Regions from separate parts of the Homo sapiens genome. Here all the other regions are linked to region 2. The links are contacts of gene promoters, found by promoter capture Hi-C in blood cells and fetal thymus (Javierre and others, 2016). All regions are on one chromosome and are shown on one strand. Each heading gives the region's core, a stretch centred on a gene start or on the middle of the fragment in contact. The rest is flanking DNA. Distances are from core to core; before and after follow the strand shown. Region 1 overlaps SIGLEC5 (sialic acid binding Ig like lectin 5). Region 2 holds the start of FPR1 (formyl peptide receptor 1). Region 3 holds the start of SIGLEC6 (sialic acid binding Ig like lectin 6).

Region 1 (3,151 bases), core at 6-2,505, 140 kb before region 2:
GGGTCACAGGCTGGGCACTCAGGCAGCAGGTGGTGTGCCAGGATAAAGGAGTATTCTGTGAAAGTCACACTGTGAACATGATGGCCAGATCTCTGGGGTTCCCATTCAAGGCCGGGCTAGATTTTATGACCACTCCCCAAAGAGAGACCTCAACACCAAATAAGAGAAAAATACAACAAATGGTTCCCACAGGGAAGTTGGGCTGATGTGACATTTATCAATTCATCCTTTTATAATCCACTCCTCCTAAGGACAGGCCATAGGCTGCCTAGGTCAGGGTCTATGTCTGATTTCTCACACTGTACGTGCCCAGGAACCGGCACAGGGCAGACAGGGCTGGGTTCAAATCCCGGCCCCACCTGTCCATATACATTTCCTGTGAACTCAACTATTCGCTCATTCTTTCAAAATTTTGTAATACTATGATTGATCAGACCATATTGAGGACTTACTAATCACATTGAATCATCACCAAAAAAAAACCCACAACAGTATAAAAGATATTCTAATTATCCCCACCTTACACACAGGGAAACTGAGGTGGAGAGAGGTTAAGTAGCTTGCCCAGGGTTATTCATCTAATACATGGCGAGGCCAGGATTCGAACTCAGCCCTGTCTCCCCTGTTTCAGGTTCTGGGCACGTACAGTGTGAGAAATCAGACATAGACCCTGACCTAGGCAGGAGGAGCGGATTATTGATGAAGCAAATGTATACCTTCGGCATAGGTTACAAGGTGTCTTATGTGCAAACCAGAAAAGAGATGGCAATTCTGATCCTGGACCCAGTTTCCATGAAAGAGAAACAAAATGGAGCAGATCCTGTCCCCAGCAAAGATGGTAACCAGATACAAGTAAGCAATTTCTTTCCTCTCCCACCTTCACCCATATCCCTACCCATCACGCTATGGAAAATATGTTGAAAGCAACGTGAGTCTTCAAACAGTAGCTCAGAAGTTTTCTTTTTGAGACAGAGTTTCACTCTGTCATCCAGGCTGGAGGGCAGTGGTGTGATTTCGTCTCACTGCAACCTCCCGTCCCTGGCTCAAGCAATCCTCCCACCTCAGCTTCCTGAGTAGCTGAGACCACAGGCACAAGCCACCATGCCCAGCTAATTTTTGTAAAGACAGGGTTTCGCCACGTTACCCAGGTTGGTCTCAAACTCCTGGGCTAAGCGACTGGCCCAGCTTAGCCTTCCAGAGTGGTGGGATTACAGGTGTGAGCCACCACACCTGGCCATACAGTTTTTTTAAAAGGACTCCGCAGTTAGGGAAAAATGGCTTCATTGTGTCAGAAAAAAATAGACTTTCTGGAGAGAGCTGCTTATATTAGGCACAAGAAAGATGAAATAAAATGAAAAAGTGGCTATGCACACCAGCATTATGCAGGCAAAGGAAGAAATAAAGACATATGTCTATCAATAGGTGTGCGGTATATGAAATAAAAAGGGTGAAATTGACAACTGAAAGAAAAGGCACAGCTCAGATTAGTAAATAGGACAATGCAGTATGTTCACCCTTTCACTCAATAGCTCTTTGCTGAGTGCTTTCTTTGGGCTAGATGCCGTTCGTATAAATGAGGACATAAAGCAGACTGAAACCACCCAAATACCTCCCCGTCATGCAGTTCCTTGTTAGACAGAAGGAAAAGTAATACTGGGTAACAGTTATAAGTGAGCTCCCTGTGAGCTTGCCACTTTACTAAGCACTCCTTGTAACAATCCGAGACAGATACTAGCATATTAATAACCCAATTTCTATAGGAGAAAACAAAAAAACAGAGAGGTTCATTAGCTTATCCAAGGTCACACAGCTTGCAAGTGGGTGAATCTAGAACCTGAATGCAGGACGTCAAACTCCAGGGACCATGCTGTGCCTCGCTTTACCATTCTGCCTATGGCATGAAAGTGTGCAGAATGGTTAAAGGTAAAATAAAGGAGAAAACAAAGCTCTCTCTACCATAGTTCTTGTCAAAAGAGTGAATTCATACACCGGCTCTGTTCTCCAAGACCTACCAATGATGGAACTAAAGATGGAGCTCCTGGGTGAACAAAACTTTACAAATCAATTTATGATCAATCAATCACACTGATATCCCTAGGGGAAAGTTAAGGCTCATTTGAAGAAAAGGGGTGGGAGAACTGGGCGGGGGGACAGCTGGCTTGTTGAGAGGATGGGTTAGCCCAAACATACTTGAATTCTGCTCCTTTCTCTCCTCTACCCTTCCAGTGGGACAAACATTGTCTGCCCCTCACTGCAGAATTCAGAGTATGGACAGGATTATGATGTGCCAGTGTCCAACAGGCATGTGTTGGGTAAGCACCAGAGGCCCACTGGGGTGAGGAGAAGGAGAACGGAGGTGGAAGCTCACTGGTCTTTGACATTCTCCTTGCCATTTTCTCCACTCCAAACTCCCAGGGCTGGTGGATCACAATGCAACGAGAGTCCTTGACCAATGTTGCTTCTCCACGAGGGTCTGAAGATGGAGGGATGACTTAAGCTGCCTTACTGGGGTGATAGGAAGTGGGACTGGTTGGGTGTGGTTTGGGTTCTTGAGGGGATCCACCCTGGGGCTTGTCCCAGTCATTTCTCTTTTTTTGAGACGATGCTTCACTGTTGTTGCCCAGGCTGGAGTGCAATGGCATGATCTCGGCTCACTGCAACCTCCACCTCCCAGGTTCAAGAGATTCCCCTGCCTCAGCCTCCCGAGTAGCTGGGATTACAGGCATGTGCCACCACACCTGGCTAATTTTGTATTTTTAGTAGAGACGGAGTTTCTCCATGTTGGTTGGGCTGGCCTCAAACTCCCGACCTCAGGTGATCTGCCCACCTCGGCCTCCCAAAGTGCTGGGATTATAGGCGTGAGCCACCGTGCCCGGCGTCCCTGTCATTTCTTTGGCTCAGTAAGCCTGACACAGGCCAGCATCTGCCCTTCCCTCATTCAAGAAACACTGCCAGAGTAGCCAATAACCCCAGGGGAATGTGAGCTCACAGCTCAGAAGGCTGGGCACCTTTGAAGAAAAGCAAACCAACAGAACCTGATAGACCACTAGAAGCACAAGTACTAGGACGCTTTGGTCAAGAAGCTAAACTGAGCATATTACATGCACTAAAAAGATGTGGCAATATTAGCAGCATGAAAACAAGCATAAGA
Region 2 (4,133 bases), core at 37-2,536:
CAACCAGTTCAGAAGATTGTTGCAATGAATGATGAGGATTCTGCAATAATGAGCTGGAACATACCAGAGAGGAAAACCTGTGCAATTTTGTCCAATTATGGTTCAAGGGAAAAATCCTGTGATTTGCAATGAACACAGGCCTTGGTGGCTGCCATCGATGAAGGACTTTATGCTTGATAATCATTGTACCACATCCTCAACTTTCTTGCCTCTGATCTCAACAAACTCAGCATTGATTATACATCATCATCCCTGTGTGACGGAAGAGGAAACTAGGAGCTTGATGAGAAATGACAGCCAATGTCTGCAGATTCATGAGAGGGCAGGGCTGTATTCCGCTACTGGGTCCTATGCACCATGCAGAACCAGTGTCTTCACGTGGAGACTCATCACTGATCCGAAAGGTGACTGCTTCTGTATTACACTCATTTCCCCATGACCCATCATAAAGTCGTTAGGGCTCTTTTGCTTTCTCCTGAAAGCTTCAAACCAAACATCCTTTCCCATCCCGACTCAAGCCCTCAAGCTGATGCCCTTGCCTCTTGCTCCACCAGATTCTCCTCCTGCTGGCTCCTGCATCACTGTTCTCTGCCCTCATCTCTGTAACCAGAAAACAAGTGTTTCCATCCAAGAATTACCCTCTACTGGTCCCATAAAACTCATTCCCCCATTTACTCAAGAACTTCCCTCCTTCACTTATCCCTTCTCTCTCCTGCAGCCTCATAGTGTCTCTATATTCCATCATTCCCATCAGGACCCCAATAAAGTCTAGAGCCTATTTGTTTATTTATTTATTTACTTATTTATTTGAGATGGAGTCTCACTCTGTCACCTAGGCTGGAGTACAGTGGTGCAATCTGAGCTCACTGCAACCTCCACCTCCCAGATTCAAGCAATTCTCCTGCCTCAGCCTCCCAAGTAGCTTGAATTACAGACGCCCACCACCACGCCTGGCTAATTTTTGTATTTTTAATAGAAGTGAGGTTTCAACATGTTGGCCAGGCTGGTCTCGAACTCCTGACCTCAAGTTATCCACCTGCCTTGGCCTCCCAAAGTGCTGGGATTACAAGCATGAGTCACCGTGCCCGGCCTGTTTAGAACCTCTTTAAAAAAATTATTCTTCAACTCCACATCCTTCTTCAAACAAAGAGTCTATTGTGTTCACCAGTGTATTAAGTGTGTCTATGTCAAGCTACCCAGTCCCCCAGAATATGTTTCTTACCTGGACTGTTCACCAGCTGTGGTCTTGCTCTGGGTAGTTCTAGGTCTGGGTCTCCTGGGGAGAGTGACTCAGGCTCTAATGATTGCAGCAAAACATACACCAAGGAACAGGAGGAGGGGTAAAGGAACTAAAACCAGCTGGGTAGCAGGAAATAGGAAGTCTGAGCTTCTTCTGATTTTTGATGGCCCCAAGAATACACCAATATACTGTCTGCTTTAATGGCATTAGGACAGTGGGCTGGGCCTGTTTAGAAACTCATGTACCTGACTGTATTTCTCAGCCTCAGTCTCTGTGGGATGCAGAGGTTCAGTGCTCTCAACAACAAGGGCCAAGAAATCCAAGTGTCCGGGCCCCTGCTCCCTCCAAGGGTCAAGGTAAAGAAAGCAGCAAGCACTGTGGTGAGAAGAATCAGAGGGAGGCAATGAAAGGAAGAGAAGAAGTCATGAGGGATGGAGACCAGAAACACAGAGAGAGGTAAGGGAGTGGGGGAAGTTGAGACAGTTGGCAGGACAGCGCGTCCACACCCATGCACACCACCAAGATTAACCCCATAATCCTCTGATCTTGTGGAAGCTCATTTGTAGTCTTCTAGCCCAAAGAAATAACCGTTTTTCTGAAATGTTAAGCATCCTTCCAAGGGTATCAGAGTGATATGGAGAAATATGGTAAGACAGTTACAGAATCAGAGATAACGACACTGATTCTAAAAGCATTATTACCAAGGCATTGTTGCATTAAGACTGTTTTTTCTTTTCTTTTAGAGACAGTATCCTGCTACGTTGCCCAGGCATGTCTCAGACCCCTGGGTTTAGTGATCCTCCTGCCTCAGCCTCCCCAAATGCTGGGATTACAGGCATGAGCCGGGCTGTTTTTAATTCTAAGTAATTTATAATTTACAATTACACCTAACAATGGCTTCAACAAGGGGTGTCCAATCTTTTGCCTTCCCTGGGCCACACTGGAAGAAGAAGAATTGTCTTGGGCCACACATAAAATACACTAACACTAACGATACCTGATGAGCTAAAAAAAAAAAAAAAAAAAAAAATCCCCCAAAAATCTGATAATGTTTTAAGAAAGTTTATGAATTTGTGTTGGGCTGCATTCAAAGCCATCTTAGGCCATGGGCTGGACAAGCTTAGCTTAGAACCAAGACGAAATTTATGGTTTACTTTACAAGAATTTTGCAAGAGGGTAATACTAGGTTAGGTTATATCTGGAAAATATCATCAAGAACTACATTCATTTTAATCTTTTCTCTTTTTTATCCCTAATATGGTGACTTTTTTTCCTGGGGATTGCCACTTCATGGCTCCAAGAAAGCTACCACAGCTCCTGACTTCACATTACAGCAGGGGTCCCCAACCTCCAGGCCATAGACCAATACACAGACCGATACCGGTCTGTGGCCTGTTAGGAAGTGGGCTGCACAGCAGGTGACTGGCAGGTGAGCAAGAGAAGCTTCATCTGTATTTATAGCCACTCCCCATTGCTGGCATTACTGCCTGAGCTCTGCCTCCTGTCAGATTAGTGGCGGCATTAGATTCTCATAACAGTGTGAACCCTACTGTGAACTGTGCATGCCAGGGATCTGGGTTGTGTGCTCCTTATGAGAATCTAATGCCTGATGATCTGTCACTGTCTCCCATCACTCCCAGATGGGACTGTCTAGTTGCGGGAAAGCAAGCTCAGGGCTCCCACGGATTCTACATCATTGTGAGTTGTATAATTATTTCATTGTGTATTACAATGTAATAATAATAATAGAAATAAAGTCTACAATAAATGCAATGTGCTTAAATCATCCTGAAACCATCTACCCCGCCACCCCATGGAGAAATTGTTTTTTATGAAACTGGTCCCTGGTGCCAAAAATGTTGGGGACTGCTACACTCCAGCATCCCACACCAGGAGGATGGGGATGAGATGGAGAATCACTGAAGATCTTTAATCAGAAGGGTGATATGTTCATTTGTACTTTATAAACATTTGTGTTTGTATTTTATAAACATTTTCTTGGGATCATAACAACAGATGCATTTTAGAAGATTCCCAAGGTATGAAGGGTAACAAATGAAGACGTGCCTAGGAGTCACATGGAAGCCAACACTTTGTAAGGGGATTAAAATAAAGGGAATGGCAGAGGACATCATTATGCACAGAGGAGAAGGGCCCAAATGTCAAGAGAAAACAAGAGACAAGGGACTCCACAGAGAGTAATTGCCAGAAAAATTTGTAGGTCTTTTGAAGTCTGACTGTTCTTCCTAAAACGGGGGTCCTGGGACACCCCTACCTGTTTCCCATGAGCCCTCTTTTCTAAAACATAAGTAGGTTTTCTTCCTGGCTACCAAATGGCCTGTGATTAGCACACTAGGTTGGGCAAAAATAGAGCCAAGTGTGTGTTCCAAAGTGACTATGGTGAAGAAAAAAGCGAAAGTCTTAAAATGGACTTCCACTTCTGTGTTTGCGTAAGGCTAAAAGGGAAGATGTCTTAGGGTTGACCGGAATGGGAGTATTCCTGCCTATGCTGCAAAAGTCCCTGACTCTTCTGGTAACTGAAACATGAGAAATGGCCTCGGCGAGCAGCACAGCCTCCCAGTAAAGCACTGGACTGAGGTGGTAAAGCCAGATTGCCTGGACTAGAATCCCAGGACTACTGTTCACTAGCTCCGGACAAGCCAGCTAATCCAGGGGTCTCAAACATTTCCCCCAACTTTTTTTTTTTGAGACAGAGTCTCACTGTGTCACCCAGGCTGGAGTACGGTGGTGTGATCTTGGCTCACTGCAGTTTTGCCTCCTAGGTTCAAGTGATTCCCCTGCCTCAGCCTCTCCAGTAGCTGGGATTACAGGTGCCCGCCACCACGCCTGGCTAATTTTTGTATTTTTTAAGTAGAGATATGGTTTTGCCACG
Region 3 (4,466 bases), core at 1,742-4,241, 220 kb before region 2:
AAACACAGAGGAAAACCAGGGTTGTGATGCTAGCTCCCCAGACTGCTCCCAGGACACCACCAGCCCTGCCTTCTGGTTTCCCTATAATTTGAATTTTAAGTGAACTCCAGTTCTAATTCCAGGACATCCTCCCAACAGCCATTCCTCTCCACCTTCCACTAATGTGACCACCCCCATCCAGGACTCAGTCACTCACCATTTCACTGCCCTGTGAACCCGGAACCAGCCTCTTCTCTCTCCATGACTCCCCCTTCCCCCAACTGCAAGACTGAGGACGTTGTGCCCCCAGCCACTCTTGTCTGGGCCTTGGAAACATCTTCTCCAAGCTTCATTTCTCTGGAGCAGTTAGGGGTTGAATTATGTCTCCCCACAATTCCTATTTTGAAGTCCTAACCCCCAGCACCTCAGAGCATGACCTGATTTGGAGAAGGGTCATAGCTGATGTAATTAGTTATAATGAGGTGTTCCTGGATCAGGGTGAGCCCTAATCCAATATGACTGTTGTCCTTATAAAAAGGGGAAAATGTGGGTCGGGTGCAGTGGTTCACACCTGTAATCCCATCATTTTGGGAGGCCAAGGCTAGCAGATCACCAGGTCAGGAGATCGAGACCATCCTGGCCAACATGGTGAAACCCTGTCTCTACTCAAAATATAAAAATTAGCTGGGCATGGTGGTGGGCGCCTGTAGTGCCAGCTACTCGGGAGGCTGAGGCAGGAGAATCTCTTGAACCCGGGAGGTGGAGGTTGCATATGTCAGATTACCATGTTGCAGTGAGCCAAGATCGCACCATTGCATTCCAGCCTGGCAACAGAGTGAGACCCTCTCTCAAAAAAAAAAAAAAAAAGGGAAAATGTGGACACAGACGCACATGTGGACACAGACACCACCATGTGAAGATTAAGTCAGAGGTCGAGGCAATGCTTCTTTAAGCCTAGGAACGCCAAAGACTCCCAGGAAACCACCAGAAGCCAGGGAAGGAGCATGGAAGAGATTCTCTCACAGCCTCAAAAGGAACCAACTCTAACACCATACATGATCTTGGACTTCTGACCTTGAGAACCGTGAGACAATAAATCCCTATTGTTTAAGTCGTGCACTTTGAATTACTTTGTTATGGCAGCCCTAGCAAACTCATACAAGGACCCAGGCTTCTCTTCCCCCAATTGTCACCTCTTAGCAGACTCCTGACCTGGCAGCAGCTGGGACAGAGCTGCTCTGGGATGTTCTGGGCCTCAAAGCTGAGCCTGAGACTTGAGCTGAATCCCTGGCAGGGGCTCAGGGAGCTGTTGACCAAGGGTCCGGCTGGCTGGGGGTGACTGTGAAGGAGCCATGGCTGCTGTTCCCATCCCTCCAGAATCTCCTCCCCAAGCTGCCAGTGCAGGGAGGAGCCACTGCAGTGTGGACTCTAAGCCTCCCAGAGGTAGGAGGGTCCCAGCAGTTGTGAGGGGTCTGGGGAGGGAGGACAGGACTTAGCAGGGGCCTCTTCTCTGAATACTATGGAGCTCTCGCCCAGCTGCCCACACTCTCGCGCACCTCCCCCCACACTCACAATGCACAAAGAGACTCAGAGAGATTTGCAGGGAGCCCAGAGGATGCTGAGCACGGCAGGTGAAATCTCCTTCTTCTGCAGACCCTACTTGAGGCAGCTCCAGGACCCCGGTATTGGAGATGGGGGTGGCGTTCAGGGCGGGGAAGCCCTGGAACCAGCTCAGGTGTGCAGGGGGGTTGCCGTCAGCATCACAGAGCAGCCGCAGAGCCTGGCCCTCCAGGACAGGGAGGGACGAGGTGTTTTGCAGGATTTTGAAGGCTTTGGGGAGAGAGGTGTAGAGAGTTAGAGATGGGGTATAGGGGCAAAGCACTGGTGTCCCTCTCCTCCTGTGGGGTCCACACTAGCTCTGAGGAGGAGACTAGTAAAGTGGGGGCCTCAGGTCTTCAGAAAAGCCCAGACCATTTCCCTGGAGCTGCCCAGGCTGTCCTGCAGAGAGTGGAGCAAGGGCTGCGGACAGCGTCGTGGCAGACAAGTGCCATTCCTGGACCATGGAGACGCCTGAGGCAGTAGGAAAACAAGCAAGAGAGAAGAGGGAGTGCGAGGGGTGTGGCAGCTCCTGCCGAAGAGGCGACAAAGGCTGGGGGTGAGCAAAGATTCAGTCCAGGTCTTTGAAGTCTATGGAGGCCTTAGTCCTGGCTTCTCATATTGATCCCCGTTAGTCCCCACTCTGCTTCCATCTGGCCCTGGAGAGAACAGGACTGGCTGGTTCCTACCTGCGCTGTTTCCTTGGAAGATGCTGATGGCCACTTTCTGTGGAGCATCTGGGGTGGAAAGAGGTGGCCGCCTCAACATCCCTGAGGAGGGATGGTAGGCATGGGGCCTTCCCCTCAGGAGCCATGAAAACAGGGAAAGGGGCTCTCCTCTTTGGCAACCAGGTCCCCAACTTTAAGCTCTGGCTCAGCCCTGCCCTGTCCCCCCACACCCTCAGGGACCCGGGCGTCCTGGCCCAGCACTCACAGGAGACATTGAGCTGGATGGTTCTCTCCATGGTCACACCGGCTCCAGGGAACGTCACCTGACAGGTGAGGTTGGTGCTGTGGTCCTGGGGCCGTGGGGTGATTGTGAGCACCGAGGACTGGGTGGTCCTGGGGCCCAGGGAGGTGGGGGCAGCTGACATCCAGGAGAAGATGGGGGGCGTCCCCTGCTCACAGACCCAGGGCACAGAGCAGGTCAGATTGCTGGGATGGCCAGACTCCAGGGTCCCTGGGATGGAGATGTTGGGCCTGTGGGTCAGGGCTGGTGAGGAGATGGGGACGCAGGATCAGGATGGAGGTCTGAGGTTTCACCCAGGGGGAAGCCCAGTCTCTGGTCCAGCTCCTTCTCTGAGCCCAACATGCTTAATTGTACCCGCCTCCCAAGACGGGGCTCCCGTCCCAGCCCTGCCCTACGGCCCCCATGACCTTCCCCTGTGGCTAGTCCTGGAGCTGGTTCCTTACCCATCACACGCACAGAGAGCTTGGAAGATGTATAACCGTATTTCATCCATTTGGACTTCAACCGAAAGAAGTATGCAGCATTGTCCCTCCTCCGGGCATCTCTGATGCTCAGGGAGCAGTTCTTCCTTCTGGGATCCCAGAGGAGGTGGAATCGGCCCCGGGTCTCCTCCTGCACTTCTTCGTCTGGGTCGTTTGTGGCCACTGGAACATCAGCCCCTTCCAGGAACCAGTAGCCATAACCATAGTACGAGGCTGGAAGGGTAGTGGGCAATCTGCAGGGTACGAGGACGCACAGACCCTCCTGCACCGTCAGTGACTCTGGCCCCTCCAGCTGGAATCTCCGCTCCTGAGCCAGGGCCCCTATGGAGACATGAGGGTCAGCTCGGCCCAGCCCCACGGCACCTCTCCCCTGGCCCACTCACCTGCCCACAGCAGGGGCAGCAGCAGCGGTAGCATCTCTGAGGCGGAGGCTTCCTGGGCTCCCTGCATGAGCAGAGAAGGGGAAGGGAGTGGAGGGGAAGGACTGCGGGGAGGAACGGGTGGCTGGGGAGGAGCGCGTGATCTCGGCTGTTCACAGAAGAGGAACTGCGAAGCCACAAGCCCTCGGAGCTCCACTCCCTCTGCACAGAGCAGACGGAAACTTTGAGACCCAGAGACCTGCCCAAAGAAGAGCAGAGGAGAAGAGACTGTGTCCCGCCTCCCACCTCGGGGCTTCCTGTGAGCAACAGAGCCCGGACCAGGGCCTCCCGGGGCATCTGAGGAATGCGAAACCTGTGTCCAAGGCCCTGCCCACCTGAGGTGCTTTTCTGTGCACCACTGTTTACACCTGGGAGCTGGTCACTCCTGGCCCCAGAGAGTCACAGCCTCATCCCACGCCATGAGAAAGTCAGTCCTGCAGGATATAGGATTCTGTAGGGTCTGTGGGAGTGTCTGGGACAGTGAAAGGAAGAAGGGTCCCAGGTGCAGTGTGGGTGATAGCCACTCATTCATTCACTCATTCATTCATTCATTCATTCATTCACCAAAGACATAGTGAGCATCTGTATGTAGGTCGGGCTGGAGAAGAGATGCCAGGGACCTGGTCCCTACCCTTGAGATGATCCCCATCCATAGCTTCCCATCCTCAGCACACACCCTCACTATCTAGCTTTAGAGCTGTGGACACTGGTGAGTTTGCCAAGTGACACAGTAGAATGCCAGATATTTTTTAAAACATGAGTATGGAGGTTTTTCCTTGACAGCTAGTACGCTGATTTACAAAATTTCAATGACATCTCCAAAATAAGAACCATGCAACATCTTCATGTAAATCAAAAAGGACACATATTTTATGAACTGCAGTGCAGAAGAAACTTCTTTTGAATTAATGTTGCCACTCAGTGCAGTGTGGACTGGAGAGATTTTTTTTTAGGTCCTCATCATAGAGATTAGCAATTTCTTTCCTGTGAAAAATCTGCTTCTCACAGTTAAATGTGGCAC

What was found. The method cuts DNA at HindIII sites, captures the fragments that hold promoters and counts their contacts. A CHiCAGO score of 5 or more calls a contact.
Region 1: a contact is called between a fragment that was not itself captured here and the fragment with the promoter of FPR1 in region 2, in 2 of 17 cell types (neutrophils and monocytes). The highest score is 10.7, in neutrophils.
Region 3: a fragment that was not itself captured here is called in contact with the fragment with the promoter of FPR1 in region 2 in 1 of 17 cell types (monocytes); the score reaches 7.1 in monocytes.

What each region holds. Positions count from the first base shown.
Region 1 is chr19:51,613,198-51,616,348 of GRCh38, forward strand. The region is part of intron 8 of SIGLEC5 (sialic acid binding Ig like lectin 5); the gene reads right to left. LOC124904753 (a long non-coding RNA gene) reads left to right here. Exons shown (of 3, transcript XR_007067313.1): 2 at 632-852; 3 at 2,227-2,519. Among named protein-coding and RNA genes, the nearest start is that of SIGLEC5, 16 kb to the right of the region's middle. RefSeq lists a silencer at 2,470-2,619. The HindIII fragment of the contact is 7,305 bases long and covers 1-3,151 here.
Region 2 is chr19:51,750,592-51,754,724 of GRCh38, forward strand. FPR1 (formyl peptide receptor 1) reads right to left here and starts at 1,287. Exons shown (of 2, transcript NM_002029.4): 1 at 1,223-1,287. The HindIII fragment of the contact is 1,877 bases long and covers 481-2,357 here.
Region 3 is chr19:51,528,173-51,532,638 of GRCh38, forward strand. SIGLEC6 (sialic acid binding Ig like lectin 6) reads right to left here and starts at 3,498. Exons shown (of 8, transcript NM_001245.7): 1 at 3,410-3,498; 2 at 2,988-3,347; 3 at 2,509-2,787; 4 at 2,265-2,312; 5 at 1,552-1,809; 6 at 1-81. The coding sequence starts at 3,476. The HindIII fragment of the contact is 5,335 bases long and covers 325-4,466 here.